6 separate regions of the Homo sapiens genome follow, and all the other regions are linked to region 5. Evidence: promoter capture Hi-C in human tissues and cell types (Jung and others, 2019). All regions are on one chromosome and are shown on one strand. The core of a region is centred on a gene start or on the middle of the fragment in contact, and the rest is flanking DNA. Distances in the headings are between cores, read along the strand shown. Region 1 overlaps NRG2 (neuregulin 2). Region 2 overlaps UBE2D2 (ubiquitin conjugating enzyme E2 D2). Region 3 overlaps NRG2 (neuregulin 2). Region 4 has its middle 14 kb from the start of CXXC5. Region 5 holds the start of PSD2 (pleckstrin and Sec7 domain containing 2). Region 6 overlaps NRG2 (neuregulin 2).

Region 1 (4,496 bases), core at 1,811-4,310, 150 kb after region 5:
TATGTGGGTTTATTTCTGGTTCTCTGTTCTGTTCCATTGGTCTATGTGTCTGTTTTTATGGCAGTACCATGCTGTTTTGGTTACTACAGATTTGAGGAAAGAGAACAAAACTGGAGGTATTGCTTTGACTATTTGGGGTCTTTTGTGGTTCCATACAAATTTTAGGATTTTTTTTCCTGTTTCTGTGAAAAATGTCATTGGCATTTTGATAGGTAGATGAAATAATCTTATATATAGAAATACTCCTTAGTATTAAGGAGTCTACTAAAAAAAGCCATTAGAATGAATAAATGAATTCAACAAAGTTGCAGGATATAAGATCTACATAAATAAATTATATTCTTATACACTTGCAATGAACAATTTGCAAATGAAATTAAGAAAACAATTCCATTTATAATAGCATCAAAAAGAGTAATGTAACTAGGAATAAATCTAACAAATGAAGTGCAAAATGTAAACTCTGAAAACTACAAAATACACTGTTGAAAGAAATTAAAGAAGCTCTCAATAAATATAAAGGCATCATATGTTCATGAATCAGGAGATTCAATATTGTTAAGATGGCAATATTCCCCAGATCGATCTACAGATTCAGTGCCATCCCAATCAAATTCCTGGCTTGCTTTTTTTGCAAAAATTGACAAGCTGATCTTAAAATTCAAGCTGACAAGGTGCCCAAAATAGTCAAAGCAATTTTGAAAAAGAAGAACAAAGTTGCAAGACTCACACTTCCCACTTTCAAAACTTACTATAAGCCACAATAAATTAAGACAGTGCGGTATCAGAATAAGGACAGAAACAGATCAATAGAATAAAATTGAGAATCCGGAAATAAACTCTCACACTTATGGTTAATTGGTTTTCAACAAGGATATAAAAGTAATGTAATCAGGAAAGAATTACAAATTGTTAGTTTTTTCTAACAAATTGTTCTGAGACAACTAGATATCCACAGCAAAATAGTGAAGTTGGATACCTACCTCACACTGTATACAAAAACTAACTCAAAATGGATCAAAGACCTAAATGGAAGAGCTCAAACTATAAAATTCTCAAAAAACATAGATGTATTTCTTTGTGACACTGGATTGGGCAGTGATTTGTTGGATATGACACTTAAAGTATGAACAAGAAAAGAAAAAATAGATAAATTGGACTTCCTCAAAATTAGAAACTTCTGTATTTCAAAGGACATCATTAAGAAAGTGAAACGACAACCCACTGAATTGTAGGAAGTATCTGTAAATCATACATCTGATAAGGAACTTATATCTATAATATATACAGAATGCTTACAACTCAACAACAATAAAACAATCTGGTTAAAAATGGGTTTAATTTTTTCTTTGGAGAAATGTCTTTAATTTCTTCTTTGGAGAAATGTCTATTCAAAGGGTATGAATACATATTTCTCCAAAGAATATATACAAATGGTCAACAAGCATATGAAAAGATGCTTAACATCACTAATCGTTAGGGAAACACAAGTCAAGACTATAGTGAGATACCACCTCACACCTATTAGGATGGCTACTATTAAAAAAAAAAACAGAAGATAACAAGCGTTGGTGAGGATGTGGAGAAATTTGAACGCTTGTGCATTGCTGGCAAAACAGTTTTATTGAGGTATGTTCGCATACCATACAATTCACACATTTAAAGTGTGCAATTCAATGATTTTTAAATATATTCAAAGAGTGGTACAACCATGACTACAATCAATTTTAGAACATTTTATCAACCTGAGAAGTAAACCCATACTCTTTGGCCTCCTACAACTCCCCAGTTTGAAGAAACTGCTAATCAGCCTTCTGTATCTAAAGATCTGCCTATTCTGGACATTTCATATAAATCAAATTATACAATGTTTGGTCATTTGTGACTGGCTTCTTTCACTTAGAATAAAGTTTTCAAAGTTCATCCACATTGTAGCATGTTTCAGTACTTTTTTCCTTTCTGTTGCCAAATAATATTCTATTGTGGATATACCACATTTTATTAATCCAACCAACAGTTGATGGCCATTTAGGTGGTTTCTACTTTTTGTTTATTACGAATAATGCTTCTGTGAACATTTGTGTACAAGTTTTTGTAAAGACATACGTTTTCATTTCTCTTGGGTATATGTACACCTGGGAGTGCACTGCTGGTTCACCAGACTTTTCCAAACCAACTGCATGCACCATCTTATATTCCTATTAGTAGTGTATGAGGGTTCCCATTTCTCCACATCCTTGCCAACATTTATTATTATGCATCTTTTTTAGTCTGGCTATCCTAATAGGTGTGAAGTGGTATATCATTGTGGTTCTGATTTGCATTTCCCTAATGACTAATGATGTTGAACATACTTTCACATGCTTATTGGCCATTTGTATAGCTCCTCTGGAGAAGTGCCTGTTTAGATCCTTTACCAGTTCTTTCCAATTCTTTTTATTGTGGTAAAATGCACATAATGTAAAATTTACCATTCTAACCACTTTAAAGTGTATCAGTGGAACCAAGTACATGAACATTGTTGTGCAACCATCACCATTCTCCATCTCCAGAGCTTTTTTCATCTTTGAAAAGGAAACTGTATGCATAAACAATTACTCCCTATTTTCTCCTCCCCCACCCAACCCCTGGCAGCCACCATTCTACTTTCTGTCTCTATGAATCTGACTACTCTAGGCACCTCATATCAATAGAATTAATGTGGCATTTGTCTTTTTGTGACTAGATAATTTCATTTAGCATAATGTCAATGAACTATACCAAAAGAGGCAGAAGGCTTCTTTCCTGAGACGAATACTCTTCGTAGTCAGAACGGAACCAGTCTCATTGCACTTGACATCTGGTCATATCCAACCTCTTGGCTCCCACATACCAACCTTTCTAGTGGTGGGAAAGAAGTTCAGCTCTGGACTTCCCGAGAGACCTAACCTGAGCCACTCTTTCTCCCACACAGAGGTCCGCTTCACATATAATTGTTACCATCACTTTGATTATCACTGCCACCATTCCAGCCCATCACTCAGCCCTTCTCCTGACCGCCATCCTAGCTGCATCTCAACTACTAGCCCAGTCAATATCCTGGCCACTGCTGCCAATAACAGCTCCCATTTACTGAGCATCTGCAATGTTGTATCTAATCCTCATTGCAAAACTGAATACCAGGAGGTCTGGACTTTATCTTGAGTGCTATGGGAAGTTGTTGAATGGTTTTAAGCAGTATAATCATAAGATAATATCCATATATTAAAATATTTATTCTGACTGCAGCACACAAAATAGAAGTGACTGGAGTTAGCCCAGTTAGCAGGTTGTTGCAGGAGTTCTGGGTGAGACAAGGGTAGTGGTAGTGAGGATGAAGAGAACTGGTAGAATCTGAGAAGTGTTTAGGAGGTACAATGTATAGGACTTGATTTCAGATTGGACATGAGGGTAAGACAGAGGCTAGAGTCAAGATTCCCTCGGCATAGGCAAGCTCCGCAGCCACAGGCAGCCATGTTCAATTAACAAAGCCTCTGAGTCTCGGTGACCCTGAGGCTTCTAGGATTCTCAGTGACCCTGAGGCTTCAATTCCCTACCAATAGGCTTCTCCAAAAATCTGTAGTGTAGACACTTCAGTGAGGAATGAAACTGATAAGACTAATTTGACCACTATAAAAATAATCTCCTGTTTCCTCTCTCCCTTTAAGGGAGAAAGAAGCTGCATATTAAGGAGGTTTGAGGAGCCCCCATCTTTCCTCTCTCAAATTTTCATCATTTCCACCACTCCAACAGCCCTTAAAAAATCAATCAATACATTATTCCACAGACATATAATGGTCATGCTATGTACAAACTATGATATCACTATTTTAGGGTTAAGGATTCAGAGATGATCTCCCTCTCTCTAGCAAATCCTGCTCTTAGGAAAAGACCCAGAACTAATTTTTACTGAAGAACAGATGAGTAATGGAGTGTGACCTTCCTTTAAGGGAATTTTTAACTAATACTTTTTTTTTTCTTATTTCAAAAGTAATTCTCAATAAGTACAAGTAAGGCATAAAAGTCACTAGAACACCCACTACCTGAAGATAATAATTAGAAACATTTTGATGTACGTCTTGTCAGACTTCTGTACATATATATTTTTTTCCTTCTAGGCTTCTATTCTATTTTAGCTAAGGAACTTATATTTTACTTAAGAAGAATATCTTACTCTAAGGAATGACCCCAGCATAACTGCTATTTGGTGCAGAGAACTTTCCTTTAGTCTTCAAAAGTCACGTTTCTAAGGTTCACACATAAATGGTTACTTCTAAAGAAGGCTTTGCTGGGTGTCTGGCCATGGCTAGGTGTTCATATTTACCAGCTGCCCCTAGACAAGTCCTGCTCACCTTGGTTTTGGAGCATGAGAAAAGGGAAGTAATAGACACCCTCAAAGCTTGGCAGGGGGCCTGGTCATGGGAAGAGGCCTCCCAAAGGGCAACTAGTACTGCTACATTCTTTGCATGGCTCCTTCC
Region 2 (4,620 bases), core at 1,854-4,353, 230 kb before region 5:
TCCCTTAAGTGTTGGAATTACAGGCATCAATCAGCCACTGCACACGGCCTATACCTGTAGCTACTTAGAAGTAGGTACTGGGGTTATCCATTCTGAATGATGGGATGGGGATGCAAGAGGAAGAGAACCAGTTTTTAGCTTGTCTTAAACTAAGTCAGAATACAGATTGATGATTTAAACACCTCAGCTCAGCGGTTGGTCCTCATTTCATTTTTGCTCAAAGACAGTGTGGAATCAGTCCCATTGGTTACTATAATTAGGTTAGCTCCTTAACTTCTTTTGACTCTGATTTCTAACAAATGAAGAAGGGCAGATTTTAGACAATAAATCTTGTACTAAAATGAAATGGTATTTGTTAAATACCATAAAGAAGCTTGAACCTTAAGCAAAGATGTCTTAAAGAACCGTTTAAGGGGCAGGGGAGCACACTGAGGAGTAGTCATCCAAAAAAAATATATACATATGTATTTTAAAGGCTTTTAGGAATTGCTAGGTCCTTATAGAATCTAACTGGGAAGTTATCAAATACCTGTAGAAGCTTGTCCTCTTATTTTATAACCTGAGAAAGAGCAAGTGGGTATAATGTGTAATAATTTACAGATAAAGAAATGTAGACCTGCCGGGCGCGGTGGCTCACGCCTGTAATCCCAGCACTTTGGGAGGCTGAGGTGGGTGGATCACGAGATCAGGAGATCGAGGCCATCCTGGCTAACACGGTGAAACCCCGTCTCTGCTAAAATATACAAAAAAAACTAGCCGGGCTTGGTGGCGGGTTCCTGTAGTCCCAGCTACTCTGGAGGCTGAGGCAGGAGAATGACGTGAACCGGGGAGGCGGAGCTTGCAGTGAGCCGAGATCGCGCCACTGCACTCCAGCCTGGGCCACAGGCGAGACTCCCTTTCAAAAAAAAAAGAAATGTAGACTTTAATCTCTACATTGAATTATATGTGTAACGGACTTTTTCAGAGAGGGAACTATCTCTTTGACACAAAACATACGTTTTAATTAATAATACTTGCTCTGGTAATATAGTTTCTTATGAGTTGCTACATATTTTCTAGAATAGATTTTCCTTAAAATATGCCTTTGTAAGATTTTTTTAATAAAATCAAGTTTAGAAATAATTTGAACTTTTTTGGGGGATAGAGTTTCAGTCTTGTCGCCCAGGCTGGAATGCAATGGCACGATCTCAGCTCACCGCAACCTCCACCTCCTGGGTTCAAGTGATTTTTCTGCTTCAGCCTCCCGAGTAGCTGGGATTACAGGCACGCACCACCACACCTGTCTAATTTTTGTGTTTTTAGTAGAAACGGGGTTTCACCATGTTGGCCAGGCTGATTTCTAGTTCCTGACCTCCGGTGATCCACCTGCCTCAGCCTCCCAAAGTGTTGGGATTATAGGCGTGAGCTACCGTGCCCGGCCTGAACTTTTTTTTTTTTGGAGACGGAGTCTCCCTCTGTCGCCCAGGCTGGAGTGCAGTGGTGCTATCCTGGCTCACTGCAACTTCCGCTTCCTGGGTTCAAGCGATTCTCCTGCCTCAGCCTCCGGAGTAGCTGGGATTACAGGCACTCCGCCGCCATGCCCAGCTAATTTTTGTATTTTTAGTAGAGACGGGATTTCACCATGTTGGCCAGGCTGGTCTTGAACTCCTGACCTCAAGTGTTCTGCCACCTTGGCCTCCCAAAGTGCTGGGATTGCAGATGTGAGCCACGTCATCTGGCCTGGCCTGAACTTTTAGAATTCAATATTAACCATTTTCCCCTAGTTTATTCCCTAGAGCTCTTCACAAAGTATGGCTTGACTTCTCTGAGACAGCTAGTGATAAGAAAAATGAAGTTTATTTTGGTATACCACTCAAAAAGATTGTGAAAACAAAATGGAGATTAATTTTTTTTTTCCAAACTCTTTGTACCACAATTTTAAGTTGAATAGCTGACTTCCTAGGCATGGATAAGATCAGTTCTATCTTATCTTCTGTCCTAGTAATGTGTCTGCAGTGGAATCCCCATTGCTTGGCTTCTATAATTGATCTTGAACCTTCCCAATTATCATTCCCTGAAAAAATAATTCTACTTAAATACCTTCTTGACTTAAATGTCATGAGTTGCTACATCTGGGTTCTGATAAGATTTTTCTAAGAAAAACTACATTTGACATGTGACATCTTCAGGAATTCAATATCTTGTTTCTTTGACAGAGGGACGCTATTCATGTCTGTGAATTTGGCAGTCTTTGAAATGCCATGTCTTTTTTGGAAAAAGCTTTTGATGGACTTTATTTTGATATACATCTTAAGGTCCCCTGACCTATACTATAAGCAGAGCATAGCAAAGAGGGTCATTATGAACATTGTGTGTAGTTCTGGGCAGGGCTTGGGATCCTTTGGGATTGTTGGTATCTACACCACATGGCCCCACCCTGCTATGTTTTAAGGTTTTCTGCTGACTTTTTAGGTCTTCAGCCTTGATTTTGATGCTTTGAGTGCCTGCCTCTAGCAGCACCACCCCCAGCCCTTTTCCAGTTGGCTGCATCTCATCTGTTGTGGGCTAAGAAACCAGATCACAGAGCTTATTAAAATTGTGTCTAAAATAAGATCCAGTAGGCTCTTGACTGAAGAGGGCTTCATGTGCTCTGTGAACTGTGTGGTTTCCTTGGCTGATCGGAGACCTTTCTGACTTGCTTCCTGTTTTTCTTCTTTACTTTTGCTATACAGATGTAGGAGGCTTTTTGGTGCTCTTAGAGTGCTGTAATGTTGAAGTATTTGGTTAATTTCTCTATTCTTGGGAAGGGTAAAAGGCTAAATAAATATCTTGATTCTTTGAGGAGTTGAAGACTGACCAGAGTTGGATACTAAAAGCTTTTCTTAACAGTAATAGTGCATTGTACATTTTAATGGTGTCCTACTAGTTGCAGATAACGTTTGGCATACATAGCTTTCAAACAAAGTAATGCCAGGATTATCACTTGATCTATTTCTGTGATAGAGATTTTTTTTCTTTCTTTTTTTTTTTTTTTGAGGCAGTCTTGCTCAGGCTGGAGTGCAGTGTCATGATCTTGGCTCACTACAAACTCTGGCTCCCAGGGTCAAGCAGTTCTCTTGCCTCAGACTCCCAAGTAGCTGGGATTACAGGCACTCACCACCATGCCCAGCTAATTTTTGTATTTTTAATAGAGACAGGGTTTCTCCCTGTTGGCCAGGCTGGTCTTGAACTCCTGACGTCAGGAGATCCGTCCGTCTCGGCCTCCCAAAGTGTTGGGATTACAGGTGTAAGCCACTGTGCCCGGCCTATGGCTAGCTTCTTTTAAGGCGTCTCAAGACAAAGTTCTCAATGAAATAAAGATTTCAGGTCATGCACAGTGGGTCATGCACAGTGGGTCACGCCTGTAATCCCAGCACTTTGGGAGGCCCAGGTGGGCAGATCGCTTGAGCTCAGGAGTTCGAGACCAGCCTGAGCAACATGACGAAACATGGTCTTTACAAAAAATACAAAAAATTAGCTGGGTATGGTGGTGGATGGCTGTAGTCCCAGCTAGGTGGGAGGCTGAGGTGGGAGGATCTCGGGAGCCTGGGAGGTAGAGGCTGCAGTGAACCGTGATCAAGCCGCTACACTCCAGCCTATGCAACAGAGTGAGACCCTGTCTCAAACAAACAAACAAACAAAAAGATTTCAAACTCTGATGTCTATAAAAGCCAGGCAGGTACCAAAGTGAGCAGAGAGAACTTGAGGGAGCTAGAAAATGCATGTGCTATCAGATGAGGGCAACTGCTAACCAGCTCCCTGCAAATGTTGCTATTGCTAAAATCTGTGGGCCCAGTGTTGCAATATCTTCCATTCAAAAAAAAAAGAGAAGCCACAAATCCAGATTTTTTGGCAACCGATTCAACTTAAAAAAAAAAAGAACAACAAAATACGCATTTTTGGTCGACATCAGTTTAGTATGTGGATTAAAGTAACCAGGGATTGGGGTTCATTAAGTAATCAGGAGTGTAAAAAGATTAAGTCATTTAAACAATACTTTCTGTATTTTTAAAAGTTTGAAAGTAATGCTTTATGTAAGATTAAGTTTTCTTGTTTGTTTGTTTTTGAGATGGAGTCTTGCTCTGTCGCCCAGGCTGGAGTGCAGTGGCATGATCTCGGCTCACTGCAACCTCCGCCTCCCAGGTTCAAGCAATTCTCCTGCGTCAGCCTCCCGAGCAGCTGAGACTACAAGCTCGCACCACCACGCCCAGCTAATTTTTGTATTTTTGGTAGAGACGGGGTTTCACCATATTGGCCAGGCTGGTCTCGAACTCCTGACCTTGTGATCCACCTGCTTCGGCCTCCCAAAGTGCTGGGAATACAAGCATGAGACACCGTGCCCGGCCTTAAGTAGTTTTTAAATACAATTCTAATTAACTTGCTTTTTTTTTTTGAGACCTCAGGTGATTTGCCCGCCTTGGCCTCCCAGAGTGCTGGGATTACAGGGATGAGCCACTGCACCCAGCCAATTTGCTAAGTTTTTTTTTTTTTTTTTTTTTTGAGATAGAGTCTCGCTCTGTTGCCCAGGCTGGAGTGCAGTGGCACAATCTCGGCTCACTGCAAGCTCTGCCTCCTGGGTTCACGCCATTCTCCTGCCTCAGT
Region 3 (4,475 bases), core at 1,693-4,192, 140 kb after region 5:
ATCTATTTCCTACTCTCCACTCAAGGATTTCTACAACCCCCAGAGCAACAGCTACCACTTCCCCTAGAACAACCAAATTGTGTCTCTGATGCTGGTCTTTCCTGATGGTCAACTCTGTGCTCTTAACTCCAGCTGGAAACTTGCCCCTGGAAGATGAAGCTCAGCCACTACAAATGGAACTTACCATCTTCTCCCTGAGCCTGCTCCTCTGGCTCTTGACTTTCTGACATCTGTTACCTGCCTCAGCTTTTCCTCAGTCACTTGAGCTGAAAATCCAGAGTTGTCTCTGACTGACAGTGTGGCATCACATCCTGTCACTAGCTGTGCCTGGCTAATTCTGCCTGCCCAATGTTCGTCTAACACATTTGCCTCTTCCCCTCTACTCATTCTCATCATGGCCATCAAAAGCAAGCCTTCCAGCATCTCCCAACTTTCCCCCTTTATCCTGGTTCTCTATTCTAGCACCCCATGAAAGGTCCCAGACATAGTTGCTCTATTAGTCTTCCCCCAAAAGCTTTTATCTTGTCACTTCTCTGCTCAAAAGTCCTTCTGAGCTCTTGGTCAACTCTCAAAGAGTGTCCAGCCCCATGGCCTGCCACTCAAGGCACTCCGTCTTGTGTCCTTTGTCATTGTTCTGCCTCACACAGTCTGTCATCTGGCCACATGCTTCCCAAACATACCTTACTTCCCAACATTTCTTATTCTGGCTCCTAGGCACCTCATGCCATATCTGCTATTTCTAAACCTACCCATTCCTAAAGAACAGAATATGATGTTGCTTCCCTCCAATGACATTAAGCGTGTTATACCTTCTACTACAATGAATCCTGTGGCCTCAGTGCCCTGACAAGACCATAATCTTTGATGTATGGGACGTTTTCTCATTCCTTATTGTACTCTCAGCACTTAACAATGGCTGTTCATAGGGCTTATCAGATGAATGAAAATATAATTCCTGCTTCCTAGGGGATGCAAGAGAATAGAAGAGATCAGGTATAGGCTATGCATTCCTCAGAAGCCAGGTAGGAAGAGTGGTCACAGTTGTACAGAAATACCTGCCCAGAAGAGAAGCCACACTTCCATATGGGTGCCAAGAAACAGTATGCCCAAAAGGCTATCTGTAGGTCTCTTTTCTCAAATGTTTTTAACCACAGGATTGCTTCCCCCCTTGGTCAAAAGATTGGATGCCGTGACTTCTCGGCAGGCCCTCCAACAGTCTGACTCCTTCCTCTGGCTGGGGCTTGACGCTCCACAAATTCCTCACAGGTCAACCCTCCCATCGGCTGCTGTGTCACTTTGTCAGTGAGAAAGTGACTGATATTTCAATCGATTCTGACTTTACCTTGGAGAAAAAGCAAGAAAATCACCAAATAGGATAGCATCCCCCAAAGTGGGACAGTCACACCTCATTTGTCTGAATTCGTGATGTCACATAGGGTAAGCCATTGTGACAACATTCTTAACCCAAGACATTCATTTCAGCTTCAGAGGGGGCTTCTGTACCAAGATTTTAACATGATTGTTTGTGGGACAAACGAGGATTAGTGGTTTTCCATGGCACCCTTGCTTTTTCCTAAGTTTCTCCTACTCCAAGTGAGGACCAGGTTTATTGTCTTTCAGACCCAAGTAAACAACCAGCCTAATGCAGAACTTGTCTCTTTCAACAAATGTGCTGTTTCCTACTTTCCCTGGGGCAAGAAGGTGAGTGAGTTAAAAGAGAAGTCTTCTCTTCCAGTCTGCAGATGCTGGAGTAAACCAAAGGACTTGGCTAAGCAGCAAGGAGATGATCATGTCTATAAGGCACGGAAAACAAGATGTATCCTAAAGAATCCCTGCAAAGAGATGATTTACATTTTACCTGTTTTAGGCAGGTGTAAGGTATGCTTGGAAAAGGATTCAACAAAGAGGACCACACTCCTCCACGCCTCAGAGACAGAAAAGGAACAGAGTTCTGTTCAAACTTTCGGGAAGGTTCCCTTTGGTTTGTGTTTCCTCTGCTGGTAGGAGGTCTGCTTTCCATCTCTGCAGAACACACTTCTGCTTCTGACAATAAAGTGCATGCCTCATTGGCTTCTAGATACTTACCACCTGTTGCTATTCCAACTCATGGCTCCACTTGGCAAAAATGGCTGAGGAAAATCCACCAGCCACCAGGAGAAAACAAAGGCTATTTTGGGCTACCAAGCAGGGGTTCTGAGTGCAGCAGCCCATGGGTGGATCCTGATGAAGAGCACAGCCAGGGCTAAAGCAGACAGGCAGGCCATGGGATGCTGTCTGAAGTAACAAGACGCTGTGCAGGGAACATTGGGCCACCAGACCCCATTCAAAGAATCCACAGATTTATCTGGGTCTGTTTCACACGGTAACAGTCAGACTAGTGGCCAGAAAGAATAAGAGGTTACAAGTCCAACTAGAATAAAAAGCCATGGCCACATGAGCTTTGAGTGAGATAGATCTGAGTTTGAATGCTCGCCTAGTCATTCTCTCTCACTAACTTTGGCACTAACTTTGGCTTCATCATTTAACCTTTCTGGGTCTTAGTTTCCTCATATGGAAAATGAGGATAATGATACCTATCATACAAGGGTGTTCTGAAGACTAAATGAAAGGTAGTATAAAGTGCTCAGGCCAAGACCTGTCATACAGAGGGAACTCAATGTACTGATATTCTAGAGGAAAAGACATATTCCCAATCCTGAAAGAGTTTATAATCTAGTTAGGAATACAAAGTACATAAACATTAGCAAACAACAGGACATGGTCCAGCACTGGATTATGGGATATAAATTTAAACATAGTAGTTCAGAGAGTAACAAGATCTCTGAGGGTCCCAATCATCAGGGAAGTCAACATAGAGCAGGTGGGATGACAGTAGGTTCCTGAGAGTAGGGTAGGAAGAGATGAAACAGAAAGGAGGCCCTTCCCCTGGTCCGAGGCTACAAGGAAAATGCTGGGGCCAAGGTTAAAGAGTGAAGCCCAAAGGCCAAGTACAACCAAGTTAATTTTGAAGGAACTCCAACTGGATCCAGATATTGGATTTAGAAGATAAAGAATTCAAAGGATTTATTATAAATATGTTCAAATAATTATAGGAAAATATGCCATCAAGAAACAAACAAGTAGGGAATCTCAACAAGGAAATGGAAACACATTTTAAAATGGATTACAGAGCTAAGGTGTACAAATTAAATGTAAAATTAAAAAATCACTAGATGGGCTCAACTGAGGATTTAAGATGGCAGAAGAAATAATCAGTTAACTTGAAGACAAATGAAAAGAAACTGGCTTATTTAATGAACTACCAGGGAAATGCAAATTAAAACCACAACGAGCTATCACTTCACATTTGTATGGACAGCTATTATCAAAAAGACAAGAAATAACAAATGTTGACAAGGGTATGGAATGAAGGGAACCATTGTACAAAGCTAGTGGAAATGTAGATTGGTACGGCCATTATGGAAAACAATATGGAGATTCCTAAAATAATTTAAAATAGAACTACCATATGACCCAGAAATCCCCCTTTTCGGTATATCCCCAAAGAAGACAAAATCACCACTTCATAAAGATCTGCACTCCCATGTTCATGGAAGCATTAGTCACATTAGCCAAGATATGGAAACAATCTAAATGCCCATAGATGGATGAATGGATAAAGAAAATGTAGTGTGTGTGTGTGTGTGTGTGTGTGTGTGTGTGTGTGTGTATACACAGTGAACTATTTTTCAGGCTTTAAAAAGGAAATTCTGCCATTTGCCACATCATGATGGACCAGGAGGACAGGAAGATGTTATGCTAAGGGAAATAAGCCAGACACAGAAAGAAAAATATTGCATGATCTCACTTATTAGTAGATTTTTTTTTTTAAAAAAAGCTCAAATACATGAGACAGAGAATGAAGCATTAGTTACCATGAGAGTGGCAAGGTAGGAAATTGGGAGATGGAGGTCAAAGGATAAAAATAGCAGATATGTAGGATGAACAGATCTAGAGGCCTAAGGTACAACATGAGAACTACAGTTAATAGAATTGTATTTGGGATTTTGGTTCATTAAGTAGATTTTATCTGTCCTTATCACACAAAAAATACTGTGAAATAACAGATATGCTAATCTACTTTATTATAGTAAGTATTTTACTATCTATATGTATCCCATAATAGCATGTTGTAAAATCTCAAGTATACACAATAAAATTTATTCAGGAAAGAGGAAAGAGAAAGAGAATAGAGAAAGAAATCTCCTAGAAGTGTCAAGAAGAAAAAGAACTGAAGTAAACAGACATATTGGATGGTTAAACCATAAATGAAAAAGGCTCAAATAAACTAGTATTTATTTAAAAATTTTAAAAAATCATATTAATAATTATATTAAATGTAAGTGGTCTGACTCCAATTAAAAGGCAGAGATTGACAGACTATATTAAAAAGTGAGAACAGGCCGCACGCGGTGGCTCACGCCTGTAAGCCCAGC
Region 4 (4,805 bases), core at 1,213-3,712, 160 kb before region 5:
ACATTTGGGACGCAGAGCCAGCACCATCTTGGGTAAGAGAAGTGTTCCATGTTTGAGGTAGTTGGCAAATGCTAAGCTACCTATGTGGTGACAGTTGTCTGGAGCTTTTCCCATCTGATTAAGGGGCAATACTGATTTGGTCGTTGTGGGCAGTTTCTCCTCCTAGCCAGCATCACTGCCATCTTGGAAGGTGTGGCTACCTGTCATGTGTTGCACAGAGAGTCGAGGGGAGCTGGCCTCGTTTGAGAGGGCACCTGAGACTTTCAGTCACCTGCTGCAGAGTGACAGAAGGAACAAGGGAAACCAAGGCTTTCCCAAACTTGCCAGAGAAGGTGAGCTTTTTGGAAGGATGGTTCCAAGTGACCTCAGCTTAGTCCTCCTTTGGAGGAAACAAGGCAAGTTGGGGAGGCTCTGGTGCATAACAAGTTATAGGGCAGGTACTGTTTCCTGGATTCAACCTCCAAGCTTCATAAAAAGGCAGTTCCAGCCAGGCGTGGTGGCTCACGCCTGTAATCCCAGCACTTTGGGAGGCCGAGGTAGGTGGATCACCTGAGGTCAGGAGTTCAAGACCAGCCTGAGCAACATGGAGAAACCCCGTCTCTACTAAAAATACAAAATTAGCCAGGCGTGGTGGTGCATGCCTGTAATCCCAGATACTTGGGAGGCTGAGGCAGGAAAATCTCTTGAACCGGGGATGTGGAGGTTGCAGTGAACCGAGATCCGAGATCGCGCCATTGCATCCAGCCTGGGCAACAAGAGAGAAACTCTGACTCAAAAAAAAAAAAAAAGGGCGGGGGGCACTTCCTTTTGAAGTTTCAGATGTATATTGGAGGGAGCAGAATTCCTTTGTGATTTCTTCCTTAATACATTGTGTCCCTGAGGTGGTCCCTGTTCTTCCTGTCTCCTGTCAGCCCCCTGGCTCAGAGGACGGCTGAATGGAGTTGCATTTCAGTGCCCACAGATGGAGGTGATGACTGAAGTGTGTTTGCTTATGTGGGGAGTGAGATGATGGCTTTGGTGTCTGAGTGGATGCTAGTGCCTTGAGTGGCCAGCAGAGGGCAGTGGTGACCCATAGCTGTGACAACCGTGAGGCGTGTGGTCAGTGAATCTGCATGGGCACAACCTGAGAGGGGCTTTTGTTGGAGTGGGGAGATTCTTTCGGACTTAAGCTTTGTGCGTGGTATATCCAGAATCAGATGGGCCAGTGCCAAGTTCAGTCAGGTTCTCAGCCTTACAGTGAAGGAAAAGGTTAGTGACTTGTATTTCAGCCCAAAGCCTACTGGAAGTGTCAAGCTGCCAGCTCCCCTCTGCCCTCCCCGTTGCTATGGCAGCCATGTCTCTGTGTGTGAATAGGTGAACCAGGCTCCAGGTTAGGACCTCTGCCCACCTAGCTCCAGGTTACATGCAGGAAAAGATCTGTCTATTGCTGCATGTGAACAAGGAGATCCCATATTTCTAGCAGGTCACAGAGGCAGCAGTCCATTATCACTTGCCTGCCCACCTACCCTGGGCAACCAGCACATGGCTCCTTAGACCTTGAAGATGGAGGCCTGGGGACAGAAGGAGCAGAGTTGGGGGCTAGTGATAGGGCCTGGGAAATGTTCTTGTCTGTTTCAAGTTTATCTTGTATTTTGGGGCCCTGGTCTCCTCAGTCTTCCAGCCCAACAGGTGTGAGCGTCCAGGGCCACCACCCGGAAGCCAGCTGCCTCTTCATGGGGAAATCTTTGAAATTCAAGGCTTGGCCATCTGGATATGCAAATGTTCCAGATTTGCTGAGCCCACCAAGTGGCTGAGCCCCCCATGCCTGGGGCCTGTCAGCCACATTCTCCATGGCTCCCTCCTTCTAACAGGGACAGGGGCAGGCAGGGAATCTAAATTCCCAGGTCAAGGAGTTTATTTGGGAGCCCCAGGCAGGGCTGTGAGAATTAGCTACCACTGCCCCTAGATGGGGAAAGCTGCCTGGGTGCTGTTGGTACCTAGAACCTAAGCTTTTGCCTACTGATAGACTCTAAGGAGAACGGTGTATTGAGAGCTCCACGAGTCCTGCTGTAGTGCCTAATCATGTGAGGGATTTTGCTGGATCCAAAGGAATCTCAACTAAGAAAGTTTCTGGAATAAGGAGGGAAGCCTTGGGTCTAGCCTCGCTAGAGGGTGGGAGCTACCTGCAGGGAAAGCTGCTGACTTCCTATTATGTCAAACCCAGGCAAATAACTGGAGCTTAGGCAGTTGGCCCCCAGAATTGCTTATTCTCCCCCAGGCCTCCCTCTGGGGCTGGTTTTCTGGCTGTAGCAGGAGGTATGTGTTCTCTGAGTGGGAAAGGAGTGGGGTCAGGGTCAGGGCGGAAACCCGGGAATTTAGATTCCCTGCCTGTCCCTGTCCCTGTTAGAAGGAGGGAGCCATGGAGAATGTGGCTGACAGGCCCCAGGCATGGGAGAGCTTAGGCCAGCCTGTATGTGTGTGTGCAGAAGGGGACTGCACATGTGTTCAGGAGCTTGAGAGTGAGAATTGTGAGCATGTACACTCCTTAGTGTTTATGCATCAGGGTGTGATGCATAAACACGAAGGCTCTGTAGCCTTTGAAGAACAGGATCAGATCTGGGTTTGAATCACAAGACCATGGGTTTTCAGTTGGGCAATAAACTTATCTGTCTTTTGCTTTGATTTTCTCATCTAGAAAACGGGCACTTGGTCACCAGCCTGACCCATAGGCAATGCTTGGTGGAAAATGACCTTATCAAATTAAAGGGTTGTGACCGTGGGTGCTTATGGTTCAGGGAGGTAGGCCTGGACAGTGAGACATCTTTCTTGGATTCCTGTACATGCTAGAGGTTTGCCCTCCTTTGAGCTGGGCTAGCTCCTGGGACATCCAGGGACCTGGGGAAGACTGGCTGGGCCCTTTTGCAGCCTATGGCTCACATGCCCACTTGTTAAGGCCTGCAAGAGTGTGCCCACAAACAGGGTGAGCAGGCAGAATAATGGCCATGGCTAGCCAGACTGTGTGTCCTTGCCCAGTGTCTGTCTGTCCTTCCCCTTACCTTGGGGGACAAAAGGGAATCCAGTTGTCCTGCCTGGTGAATAAAAGCCTGGGGTTGGGGGAGGATTTGCCTCCAGCCACGGAGGAGGGGTATGCTGTGGAAGGAGGCCAGATCTCCCCCAGCTGTTTCCCAGCTCTGTTTGAAGGGGAAGGGAGAGGGATAAATGACTGGGTGATTGTGGCACCTACAGCCAGCATCTTTCCTCTCCACATTCTAGGTCACAGGCCCACACCTCTCTCCCTAGTCAAAGAGAGCCTCTGTGAGGGGGTTGAAGGGTGTCTTGGATCTGTGGGCAGGACTTGGGATCTGGGCACAGAGAGGTTGGGGAATTAACAAAGGTCACACAGCCAGGCAAAACTAGGGAATGTGGGGAGTCATTCTAGACAGGACCTTTAGGGGGAGCTCCCTGGCTACAAGAGATTTCCTGGAAGCCCTTGGGTGGGCCCAGGCCTGAACTGAGGAAGTGAGGGCTACAGCCCAGCTGGCCTTGCACTGGAACCACAGGAGTGGCCTTTAAGGGTGTGCTGAAGGACTGATGAATCTTGGCCCTGTTCCCACACACATGCACCACTGGGAATGGGAGTGGGGAGATTGCTGAGCTCTGGGGCCAGCCCTGTTTCCTGCTTTGGATTTGGAATGGGGAGAGCCTTTCTGGGGACTGAAACTGGTGCTTCAGCTTCTCTAGGGGGAAATGGAGAAATGGAAAGGGGGACTGACAAGGGATAGTCCTTAAGGAGTTTATTTGGGAGGCTCTGGGTCCCTTTGTAACTAGGTGGGTGACCTTTAGGAGGGAAGTGCTTTGTGTTCTACAGCTTTCTGAGAGTGGCAGGAAATGGGGCCAGTAGCAGTGCACACTAGTTGGGTTGCACCTGGTGAGAGATTAGGGGTGGTTTCCCCACCAAGGTCTCTGAGCCAGAGCTTTCAGCTGCATGAGCACAGCCTGCTCCCCCTGTGGAGGGGATTCTGGGGTGGGTGTGGTTGTATACTGGGGGAAGTGAGAATGTGGCCTCTCTGTGGGTGAGTGCAGCACCGTGAATTGTGTTTGTAACACTTGAGTTGTGTTTCCCAGGTGTATGTGATGGCAGAACTAGTTTTGCTGCTGGGGTGAATCAGGTTCCTGGAAGGGACTGGACTAACATGGAGAGAATGATGCTAAGTAGTTACAGTCATTATTATATACACATGACTTAGTAGTATAGAACCATTAGCAATGACCAAGACCACCTGTGTGTCGAGTGCTTACCATGTGCCTGGTGCTGTGCTAAGCACCTCACCTGCAGTGGCTCATTTAGTCCTGTCAGAACCCTGCAAGTTCATGCTGGTTTGCCTGGTGTTTGTTTATTGTGCCATGTTGGGTGGGGTATAATTTTATTCAAGTTGGAAGATGCAAAACAGCTTTATCCCTCTCTTAGTTACTGGGGTGCAACTTATGGCAGCATTTGCCCCTGTCATATTCTATACTTGGGCTCCTGGTCCCATCCTTTTGCCAGTATGGGCACCATTGTGTTGTACAACGTAGAGACCTAATTTGACAATGTTCTTTGAGGTAGTGGTGATGGATGATATGACTATATGACTTTTTTGCTTTGTTGTGTGACTGTTGTGCACCCAAAGTATGTAACTCCCTACTGCTGTGTGGTTGAGACCAGCTACTATATGACTCATTTTGTGTCCCGGTGATATTGTAGGTGTCTAGTGTAGGGACATCTGTTGTGGTATGGTGAACTGGTTGTGAATAGTGTGACTGTATGTTGTATCATTAGGTGTGTC
Region 5 (4,443 bases), core at 1,242-3,741:
GGCACCCAGAACACTCACACAGAGCTCACCTGTGGCCTCCAGGCAGCCCTCTGAGCCCTAGGGAGCTAGTTCCACTTGACGGAGGGGAAAGGAAGGTTCAGGAAAGGGTACAGCTGCCCATAGCCACACAGCTAGGAAGTGTGGGTTGGGGGGACTGGACTAGAACCCGGGTCTCCTTGCCCCTGCCACAGGCTCCCAGAGCTACAAAGGACAGGGGGCAGATCCAGGGGGCAGAGACTAGGTTCTGTGTGCCAGCCCAGCGCAAGTTAGCTGGAGAGACAGCTATGTCTACCTTTCCCCTTTCCCTGTTCTTTCCTTCCACATAATTTATTAAGCCATGCTGAGTGTTAGGTGCTGAGGATACACTGTGAACCCTTTCAAGGGGCTCAGAGTCCATCCAGTGGACAACAATTAAATAGTGCATTCCATGAGTAAGTAATCATTACAGCTGGAACAGCCATGGCCCATTGAGTGCATCTGTGTGCCAGGTCTTGAGCACATCAGCTCTTTCGGTCCCCATCCTAGCCTCACAAAGAGGGGGACTGCTACCATCCTCATTGGGCAGATGAGGAAGTAGGAGCCCAGAAAGGTGGTCCAGCTGTGACTTGAGGGCATGGGTGCCAAGGGTGGGGAATGTGGTATCTAAGCCCTGCCATGAGCACTTCCCTCCACAGCCCCTGCTGGTCGCCACCCTTCTCTGCCTACAGGTAGCAGAGGGCAGGGGGGTAGAATGCAGGACAGCAGGGAAGCCAAGCTCCCTCTGTGCCCTTTAAGATCCTGGGCACCTGCACAGAGAGTGGCTCCCTTGTTTCTGGGCTCTGCGGTAATGTCCTAGGGTTTGATGGGCAGTGAAGGATGTGGTCTGAGTGCCCTCTTAATTGACCAGCTGTGCTCACAGATTCAGATCTCCTGGGATCATGAGCAAGTGACTTATGCTCTCCAAGTCTCAGTTTTCTCATCTGTAAAACGGGTTGTAGGATTGTTTTGAGAATTAAATATGACACATGAAGAGCACTTGGTAGATGCTTGGTTGTCAGAGGTGTCACCATGGTTGATGAAGTCCCAGCTCCTGCTGTTGCCCAGCTTGAAGGGAGGGAGACTACGCACAGCTCAGATTCCACACCTCCAATTACTGCCACCCTAAGAGGTCAGCAAATCCTCTTCCTGCTCCCTAAGAAGAGTCCATGTTTGTGTGTTCATGGGTGGAAAGAAGGTCAGAGAAGACTTCATGAAGGAAGGGGCATTTAAGGAGGAATTTGAGGGTTCAGTAGGAGTTCACTGAGCACAGCAGGATCAAGGCCCCACCGGGCAGAGTGTGGATCATCTGCTGAGGTCTGGAGATGGAAGCAACTGGGTGTGGTGAACCCCCCAGGGGCTGGAGTAGGGGAGAGGGGTAGAAAGTGGCCTCCAGTGGCAGGGCCTGACTCTATCCTGATTTCCCTTCTCCCAGGCACTGGGCCTGCTCCCCACGCCCTCCTTAGATCCCTGTGGGTGGGGGCCCTTTAATGCCTCTCTGAGAGGCGGACTCTTACTCTGCAGGTGCCTCACAGCCAGGAAGTTCTTAATGTCTAGCCCAGGTACAGCCAGTCAACCCTCTTCTTCAGTTAGAGTCCTGGGCTGAGGGGGGCGGCTTCAGGGCCTTGACTTGCCCTTGGGGAGACACCGTGGGACAGGTGCCTTGGGAGATGGTTTCCTCTGCCCAGGGCACCCTCTGTCTCTCTCTGTCTCCTTATATCTGCCCAGGGAGGCTTCCCCTTGACCTGGCACAGGGATGTGGATTCTTGGTTGGACCCACCCCTCACCTCCCGCCTCCCTCAGGTTCTTTCTCCTTTGTCTCTTTCTCCTCTCTCCTGCCTCCTCCCATCCCACTCTGTCCCGAGGCTCCTTCTCACCCCACAGCCCAGGTCTCCGTCCCGTCCCGTGTGACTCTAGGTCTCAGGGGCTCAGTCTCCCTCTCTGAGATTCTTCACCTTGGCCCCCCGCACTCCCTGCTCCTCCCTTGGCGGCGTCTCCCGGGGGCTGGCGTGTGTGTCGGGGGGCTGGGGGCAGGGGTCACTCCCTGAACAGACCGCGGGAGGAGGGCCAGGACCCGCCCCCTCCTTCACCTCCAGGGCCTGGCGGGTCCCGAGAGCTCAGGTTCTAGACCGGTGGGTCCTGCCTGGAGGGCGGAGGTGGTTGGGTCTGCCCGAGGGTTCGAGGACGGCAGGGGCCCAGCGTGGCTAGGAGGGGGCAGAACCCCGGGCGCTCCCCTCCCCCCCTTTCTTAAAGGGCCCGCGCGGGGCAGAGGGGGACAAGGTGGGCCGCGCTCTCCCCGGCACGCTCGGGGTCCCGGGGCGAGCGCTGCGCTGCAAGCGGACAGGGCTGGGGGCCGCGCTTCCCTCCGGGCTCCGCGCCCGCCGCTCGCGCGCCCGCAGTGCCCCCGCCCTTCCCCGCCCTTCCCGCTCCTCCCTCCTCCTCCTCCTCCAGCTCACGGCTCCGCTCCCTCCCTCCTGCCGTCCGTCCCCCTCGCTCAGCCTCTCCACATCGCGGCTCCGGCACCTGAAGGGACGCGGGCGGGCGCGGGCAGCTCCGACCGGCGGCGGCGGGGCGGGACAGGCAGCCCGGCGGCCTCCGATGGCCCCGCCGTGAGAGGCCGGACCCGCGGCGGGGACCAGCAGCGGTGAGTGGGGCCGCGGGGCTCCGGGACCCGCCCCTCCCCGCTGGCGGCCAGGCCGGGGCGGGACGGGCCGGGGAGAGGGCCGCGTGCGGGTGGGGGGCGTCGCCCTCGCCCTCGGTGCCCACCCGGGTCCGCTAACAAAGCTACATTTCCAGATCAATTCCGCGGCGTCTGGAGCATCCGAAGGATACGGTTGTCATGGAGATGGGGCCGAGAGAGGAAGCCCGGGCTGGCCGGGTCTGGGCCGGGGAGAGGGGGCGCCGCGGGAAAGCCCGAGCCCAGCCTGAGGGACGGTGGGGGCTGCCGGGCCGATTGTCTCCCGGCTCCGCCACCCACTACCCTCTCCCCGCTTTTGTATAATCTGGGGGTACGCGTGTGCGTGGGGGGTGCCAGTGGCAGCCTGGTGGTCGGGGATCGGGGCATTGGGTACCGGGGCCTGCCGGCAGCCACCTTCACGAGGCTGCAGCTTTGAGGATTTATTTCTGTTTCCAGTTTCCCAACTTTGACAGCCCTGCTTGGCGGCCAGGCCTCCCCGGCTCTGCAGCTAGAGCGGGGGCTCGCACGGGGGCGTGGCAGTCAGGGCTGAGGAGGCACATAATGGCCGAGGCGGCAGCGGGAGGGAGGGGTCCCAGGAGCGGGCTGCTGGGGCTGGGTGCAGAGGGAGTCCAGACTGGGGACAACCCTGCCCAGCGGGCCCCCTCGGAGGAGGAGGTATTCAGCTGTTCCTAGAGGATGCAGGGACTCCCCGGAATGATCACTGGGGGCATTGTTTTTGCATAGGCCCAGGGGGCCACTGTCTCAAGCCCACCCCTTTGTCTTGGGGCCATCTTGGGGGGGCCAGGAAGAGAACAGGGAGCAGAAGCAGCAGTCACAATGGAAGAGGGCCTAAGACTCCTGGCAGCCTGGGGATAAGCCAGGCTGAATTTGATGGGGATCAGCGAGAGGGCTCAGGATTTGGCCAGGGCAGGTGGGCAGCCTGGGTTTGGACTTTCCTGGGTTCCCCAGTTCCTTTTTCTAGATCCTACAAACAAGAGCTGCTTAATAGTGGTTGGGGGTGGGGGGGTTCACTGGGCTGGGACTGCCTCCAAACCCAACCCGTGGCCCAGGGCAGTTGCAGTCGTTCTTTCATTCTTCCACCCTCTCCCCAGGACTTTAGGAACCTGTCTCCCAGGGAAGCTACAAGTTCTGGGGCCTGGGATCTCCGAATCAGTAAAATGTGCCTGCTGTCCTCCCAGCAGCCCCTTTCCCCAATATATGCGGGAAGCAGGGAACAGGGGCTTTTGAGTGGGGCTACTGCAAAGTTTGGTCCTGGTGGAAACATAGCAGGTCCCTAGGGTTTGGCCAGAGCCCCCAAAAGATTCCCACGCAGTGGGGTGAGTAGGTGGGTGTGGCCCAGCTAAAGGAGGATGACTGGGTTGTCCTTGGAAGGCCTCCCTCACTGGTGCCTCTTGCAAGGTTGAAGTCTCAATGCTTGGGTGAATTGCACCCTGCAGCCCAGGGATGCCCCCAGAGGCCTCCCCGCTGCAGCTTGTCCTGGTCTGACAACTATGGGGTGCACGCTCCACAAGCAGACCTGACAAATAGTGCCTCCCAGGGTCTTCCCTGAAGGGAGAGAGCAAAGATAGCTGGAAGGAATGACTTCCTGCTCTAGACAGGACTGAGAGAGAGAGTGTGGCTGGGGGGTATTACCTCACCTAGCTTCCACATATGGAGCATATGTGCTAAGTACCCTCATAACAGTCTTTAGAGGGAGGCACTACCCTTATTCCCATTTTGTGGTAGAGCTG
Region 6 (4,297 bases), core at 1-2,500, 230 kb after region 5:
TTTTATTTTTGTTTTCATAGTATCTGGTCCTGAGGGTTACTAACAGAGTAAAACAATTTTTTTTTTTTTTTTGAGACGGAGTCTCGCTTTGTCGCCCAGGCTGGAGTGCAGTGGCGCGATCTCAGCTCACTACAAGCTCCGCCTCCCGGGTTCACGTCATTCTCCTGCCTCAGCCTCCAGAGTAGCTGGGACTACAGGCGCCCGCCACTAGACCCGGCTAAGTTTTTGTAATTTTTAGTAGAGACGGGGTTTCACTGTGTTAGCCAGGATGGTCTCGATCTCCTGACCTCGTGATCCGCCCGCCTCGGCCTCCCAGAGTGCTGGGATTACAGGCGTGAGCCACCGCCCCCGGCCAGAGTAAAGTGATTTTATCACCAAGCCAGTTGTCCTAATTTGGGAGGGACGATCCTCATTTTTTGATCAACTCTTCATCATTTCCCCACGCTCCCTCCTTTGTGGATTTCAAAGGCAGGAGGAGGTCAGTCCCCCATTATCTTCCTAAATTGCCCTAACCCCTCCCATCCAATTATCACAATCACAGACTTATGGAAGCGGCTCGGGTTTGAGACTCAGAAGGAAATACAGGGGAAGTCCAGCTTCAAGAAAGGAATTCAACATTTGAGACATCTAGATTGTCTCTCAACCCAGGATTTTGCTAAACTTTTCTAAGAAAAACTCTAAACCCATGCAGTCTCTATATTTTGAGGCTATTTTTATGCCACTTACCTAACAGGCTCAAACACTCTCTTCACAAGCTCTCACAGCTGAAGAAGAGACTACAATTTGCTGAAAACAAAAGCCCAGAATGTAAGTACAACCTGCTCAAGGCCATACAGAAAGCAGTGGACTGAGGCTGAACCCAGGGAGGCTGATTTCCAGGAAGGACTTTCATTATTTCAAAACGAAAAAAACCCCTGACAAGGCCTGATTAGTACCCTCTTCCTCAACTAAACACACATAGCCCAACACTCCTCTGGGCCACCTAAAAGCAGCTGCTGTCACTTCTGCTTGCTGGATTCAGACTGCAATTCTGCCATTCCTTTTCAACAGTCATGCTGTGCACATACCTGCCATCTCTGTAACACAGCAGAAGGCTCTAAGTATCAAGAGGGCCCTGGATAAATCACTTATGATAAATAAGCCTCGATTCTGAACCAGCTTTCCAGGCTATGTTCCTTGGGCATGGCACATGTAGGTACACTGCAGAGTCACACAGAAGAAACTGTTTCTTCACTCATTTTTCCCTCAGTTAATGTTTATTGAGCGCCTATTACGCACCAAGTACCATGAAGTTGATCGAGATACAGTAGTATAAAAAACAGCCATATTCTCCAATCTTGAATAATCTTTTCAAGGTGCTTCCCATAGAAGCTAATAAAGCACAGACTCAAATCCACATATCAGAGATTTGGCTTTTTTTCTAAAGTAACTGTCTCAATTTACTGCCTTCATATTTCTACCAATATATACATACCTAAGGTCAGTTTCCTTCCATGAGCCAGATGCTTATTCCCAATGGCCAGTTTTAATTCCAAGATAAAATCCTAAGGTCATTCTCTTCAAGTCACCCAGCAGTTGCTGGTTAACTTACATAAGGCACAAAAAGATAAAGAAGATACATCTTTTGCTGCAGCTCCATCTTGCACTCAGGAAGCTCACAGTCTGGAGGACCGCACACACACTTGCCCTCCTCCCCCATCCGACTATGCCAAGTGATAGACTAGGCCTTTATGTTTACAGAAGAGCAATGAACTGCTACAGAAACACAGGAGGCCATGATTCATTCCGACTGAGGGGATCAGAAAAAGCTTTGAGGAGAAGTGGAATCTCAGCTAAGCCCAGAAGGAAGAGGAGGCAAGAAACTGACTGAGAAGAGGAAATGGAAAGGCATACTAAGCCAAGGAAACAGAATGAGCAAAAGCACTAAAGGATACAAATGTAAAATTTGTTTGAAATTGTCAAGTAGATCATTTTAGCTATGGCAAAGAGTAAGTGTGAAAGAGTGGACTGAAGGATCACAGATAGGTAGGGGCCAAATTGTGGAAGGTCTTGCATGCCCTGTGAAGAAGTTGCTCTTTATGCCACAGGAAATAGGAAGCTATTGAAGATTTTGGGGTTGGGAAGAGATAATTACTCTGTTTTAGAAAGTGAATTCTAGCAATAGATAATAGAAGAGAACAGAGAGTCTGAAACTAGGGAATTCCATTTACAGCCGCTAAGGCAGGCTAGGTGAGATGTAAGTATCCAACTAGAAGCCAGGCACAGTGGCACATGACTGCAGGCCCAGCTACTTGGGAGGCTGAGGTGGGAGGATTGCTCAAGCCCACGAGGTCCAAGCTGTAGTATGCTATTATCACACCTGTGAACAGCCACCGTACTCCAGCCTAGGCAACACAGTAAGATCTCTTCTCCAGAAAAAAAAGAAAAGAAAAGAAAAGAAAGAAAGAAAATAAAAGTTCCAACTAGAGCATCATGAATGAAAAGAATTGGATTGGGGAGACTTTGCAGTAGTAAAAACTGTCATGACTCGTCAATGTCCTCTATACAGAGGATAAGAGTGAAAAAAGAGTCAAAGATGATTTTGACATTTCTAACAGCTTGGAAGACTAGATAAATGCTGTTATTTAGGATAGGAGTGTCCTAAACATAACAGGGTATGGCAAGAAGATATTGAGCTCAGTTTGAGAATTTTTGAATTATATCTTTTGTTAAGACCCCGGAAAGATCAAAGGCAATGCCTCGAAGAATGTTTGAGACAAACAAAAGTCCTTCCGTGGGTCTTTTTTGTTTTTGTTTTTGAGACAGGGTTTCACTCTGTCCCCCAGGCTAGAGTGCAGTGGTGCAATCACAGCTCACTGCAGCCTCAACCTCCCAGACTCAAGTGAGCCTCCTGCCTCAGCCTCTAGAGTAGCTGAGACCACAGGCATGCTCCACTATGCCTGGCTAATTTCAAAAAAAAAAATTGTAGAGATGAGGTCTCCATATGTTGCCCAAGCTGGTCTCAAACTCCTGGGTTCAAGCAATCCACCTGCCCTGGCCTCCCAAAGTACTGGGACTACAGGCATGAGCCACTGCACCAGGCCTCTCCATAGATCTTAAGAATGTGCCCCACAGATCCTTTCTATTAAATAATAGGAATTCTACAAATCTTAAAGAGCATTATCCCACTGCAGCTTCAGAGGGAACTCAAAGTAGAGAAGAGCTTATGTTAAGAAGATTCGTGGGCGTGGCTTTTGTCTAAGGCAGTAAACCCCAATAGGATTCACCGGAAAAACCATACACTTTTTAAAAGAAGTATATAGTAGTCCCCCCTTATCTATGGTTTCACTTTCCACGGTTTAATACAATAGGATATTTTGAGAGAGAGACCACATTCACATAACTTTTATTACAGTATATATTGTTATAATTGTTCTGTTATTATTATGTGTTGTTAATCTCTTACTGTGCCTAATTTATAAATTAAACTTTATCATATGTATGTATGTGTAGGAAAAACATAGTACATATAAGGCCTAGTACTATCTGTGGTTTCGCACATCCACTGGGGGTGGAACATATCCCGCATGGATTGGGGGGACTACTATACTAGCAGGAACATCACCAGCTTGGATGAAAAGGGACATCTACAAGTAGGAAGCAGGCTGAGAAAACTGCTTAGCTGCAAACACAGGCTACATGTTATGGGAAAAAAAGAGTAATTCAGAGGACAGAACCAGGAGCCACAGGGTAGAACAACAAACAGTGAAGAATCATTCCCAGGCAATAGGACTGAGCCCTACTCACATGCCAGGCTGGATTTCAAAACTGCTAGGGACTAGCGACTAATGTTGCCCTCCTTTCTAAATGGAATCATCTACTGTAGATAGAAAATTAAAGAGACATGACAACTAAATGTGATGTAGGATTCTAGATTGGGTCCTGGACCAGGAAAAGGCCATTAGTAAGACAACTGGCAAAATTTCAATAAGGTCTATAGATTAGCTAATAGTATTGCATCCGTACTATTAATGTCCTGGTTTTAATCATTTTACGTGTTGTGTCATTTGAGGAAGCTAGGCAAAGAGTATTTAGGAACTCTGTACTATTTTTGCAACTTTCTTGTATTATAATAAGTCTGAAATTATTTCAAAATCTGAAGAAAAAAATAAAAATAGTCATTTTAAAATGTAAGTGTTACCAATTTTTTAAAACAGGCATCTGTAGTAGTTATCCCAAATCTATCCCAGTGTTGTATTTGGTGTGGAGGACAGATAACTTGTCTCTTGAGTTCACAGTCTTCAGATCAAGAGGAGCA

The links. The method cuts DNA at HindIII sites, captures the fragments that hold promoters and counts their contacts. A contact is called where the count stands out against the background at its distance.
Region 1: a fragment that was not itself captured here is called in contact with the fragment with the promoter of PSD2 in region 5 in 3 of the 25 tissues and cell types used here (dorsolateral prefrontal cortex, mesenchymal stem cells and spleen).
Region 2: a fragment that was not itself captured here is called in contact with the fragment with the promoter of PSD2 in region 5 in 2 of the 25 tissues and cell types used here (dorsolateral prefrontal cortex and psoas muscle).
Region 3: a contact is called between a fragment that was not itself captured here and the fragment with the promoter of PSD2 in region 5, in 3 of the 25 tissues and cell types used here (liver, mesendoderm cells and thymus).
Region 4: a fragment that was not itself captured here is called in contact with the fragment with the promoter of PSD2 in region 5 in 4 of the 25 tissues and cell types used here (H1 embryonic stem cells, dorsolateral prefrontal cortex, heart left ventricle and 1 more).
Region 6: a contact is called between a fragment that was not itself captured here and the fragment with the promoter of PSD2 in region 5, in 4 of the 25 tissues and cell types used here (dorsolateral prefrontal cortex, heart left ventricle, mesendoderm cells and 1 more).

The regions. Positions count from the first base shown.
Region 1 is chr5:139,945,464-139,949,959 of GRCh38, forward strand. The region is part of intron 1 of NRG2 (neuregulin 2); the gene reads right to left. Among named protein-coding and RNA genes, the nearest start is that of NRG2, 96 kb to the right of the region's middle. The HindIII fragment of the contact is 4,829 bases long and covers 647-4,496 here.
Region 2 is chr5:139,563,034-139,567,653 of GRCh38, forward strand. All of the region lies in intron 1 of UBE2D2 (ubiquitin conjugating enzyme E2 D2), which reads left to right. Among named protein-coding and RNA genes, the nearest start is that of UBE2D2, 4.0 kb to the left of the region's middle. RefSeq lists enhancers at 2,272-2,371, 2,562-2,701. The HindIII fragment of the contact is 5,297 bases long and covers 456-4,620 here.
Region 3 is chr5:139,928,553-139,933,027 of GRCh38, forward strand. The region is part of intron 1 of NRG2 (neuregulin 2); the gene reads right to left. Among named protein-coding and RNA genes, the nearest start is that of NRG2, 110 kb to the right of the region's middle. The HindIII fragment of the contact is 8,415 bases long and covers 1-4,475 here.
Region 4 is chr5:139,632,415-139,637,219 of GRCh38, forward strand. No RefSeq gene overlaps it. Among named protein-coding and RNA genes, the nearest start is that of CXXC5, 14 kb to the right of the region's middle. RefSeq lists an enhancer at 910-1,204, a cis regulatory region at 3,239-4,074 and silencers at 3,884-4,103, 4,550-4,805. The HindIII fragment of the contact is 7,601 bases long and covers 1-4,805 here.
Region 5 is chr5:139,793,317-139,797,759 of GRCh38, forward strand. PSD2 (pleckstrin and Sec7 domain containing 2) reads left to right here and starts at 2,492. Exons shown (of 15, transcript NM_032289.4): 1 at 2,492-2,659. RefSeq lists a silencer at 2,011-2,210. The HindIII fragment of the contact is 20,038 bases long and covers 1-4,443 here.
Region 6 is chr5:140,024,201-140,028,497 of GRCh38, forward strand. All of the region lies in intron 1 of NRG2 (neuregulin 2), which reads right to left. Among named protein-coding and RNA genes, the nearest start is that of NRG2, 17 kb to the right of the region's middle. The HindIII fragment of the contact is 8,374 bases long and covers 1-4,297 here.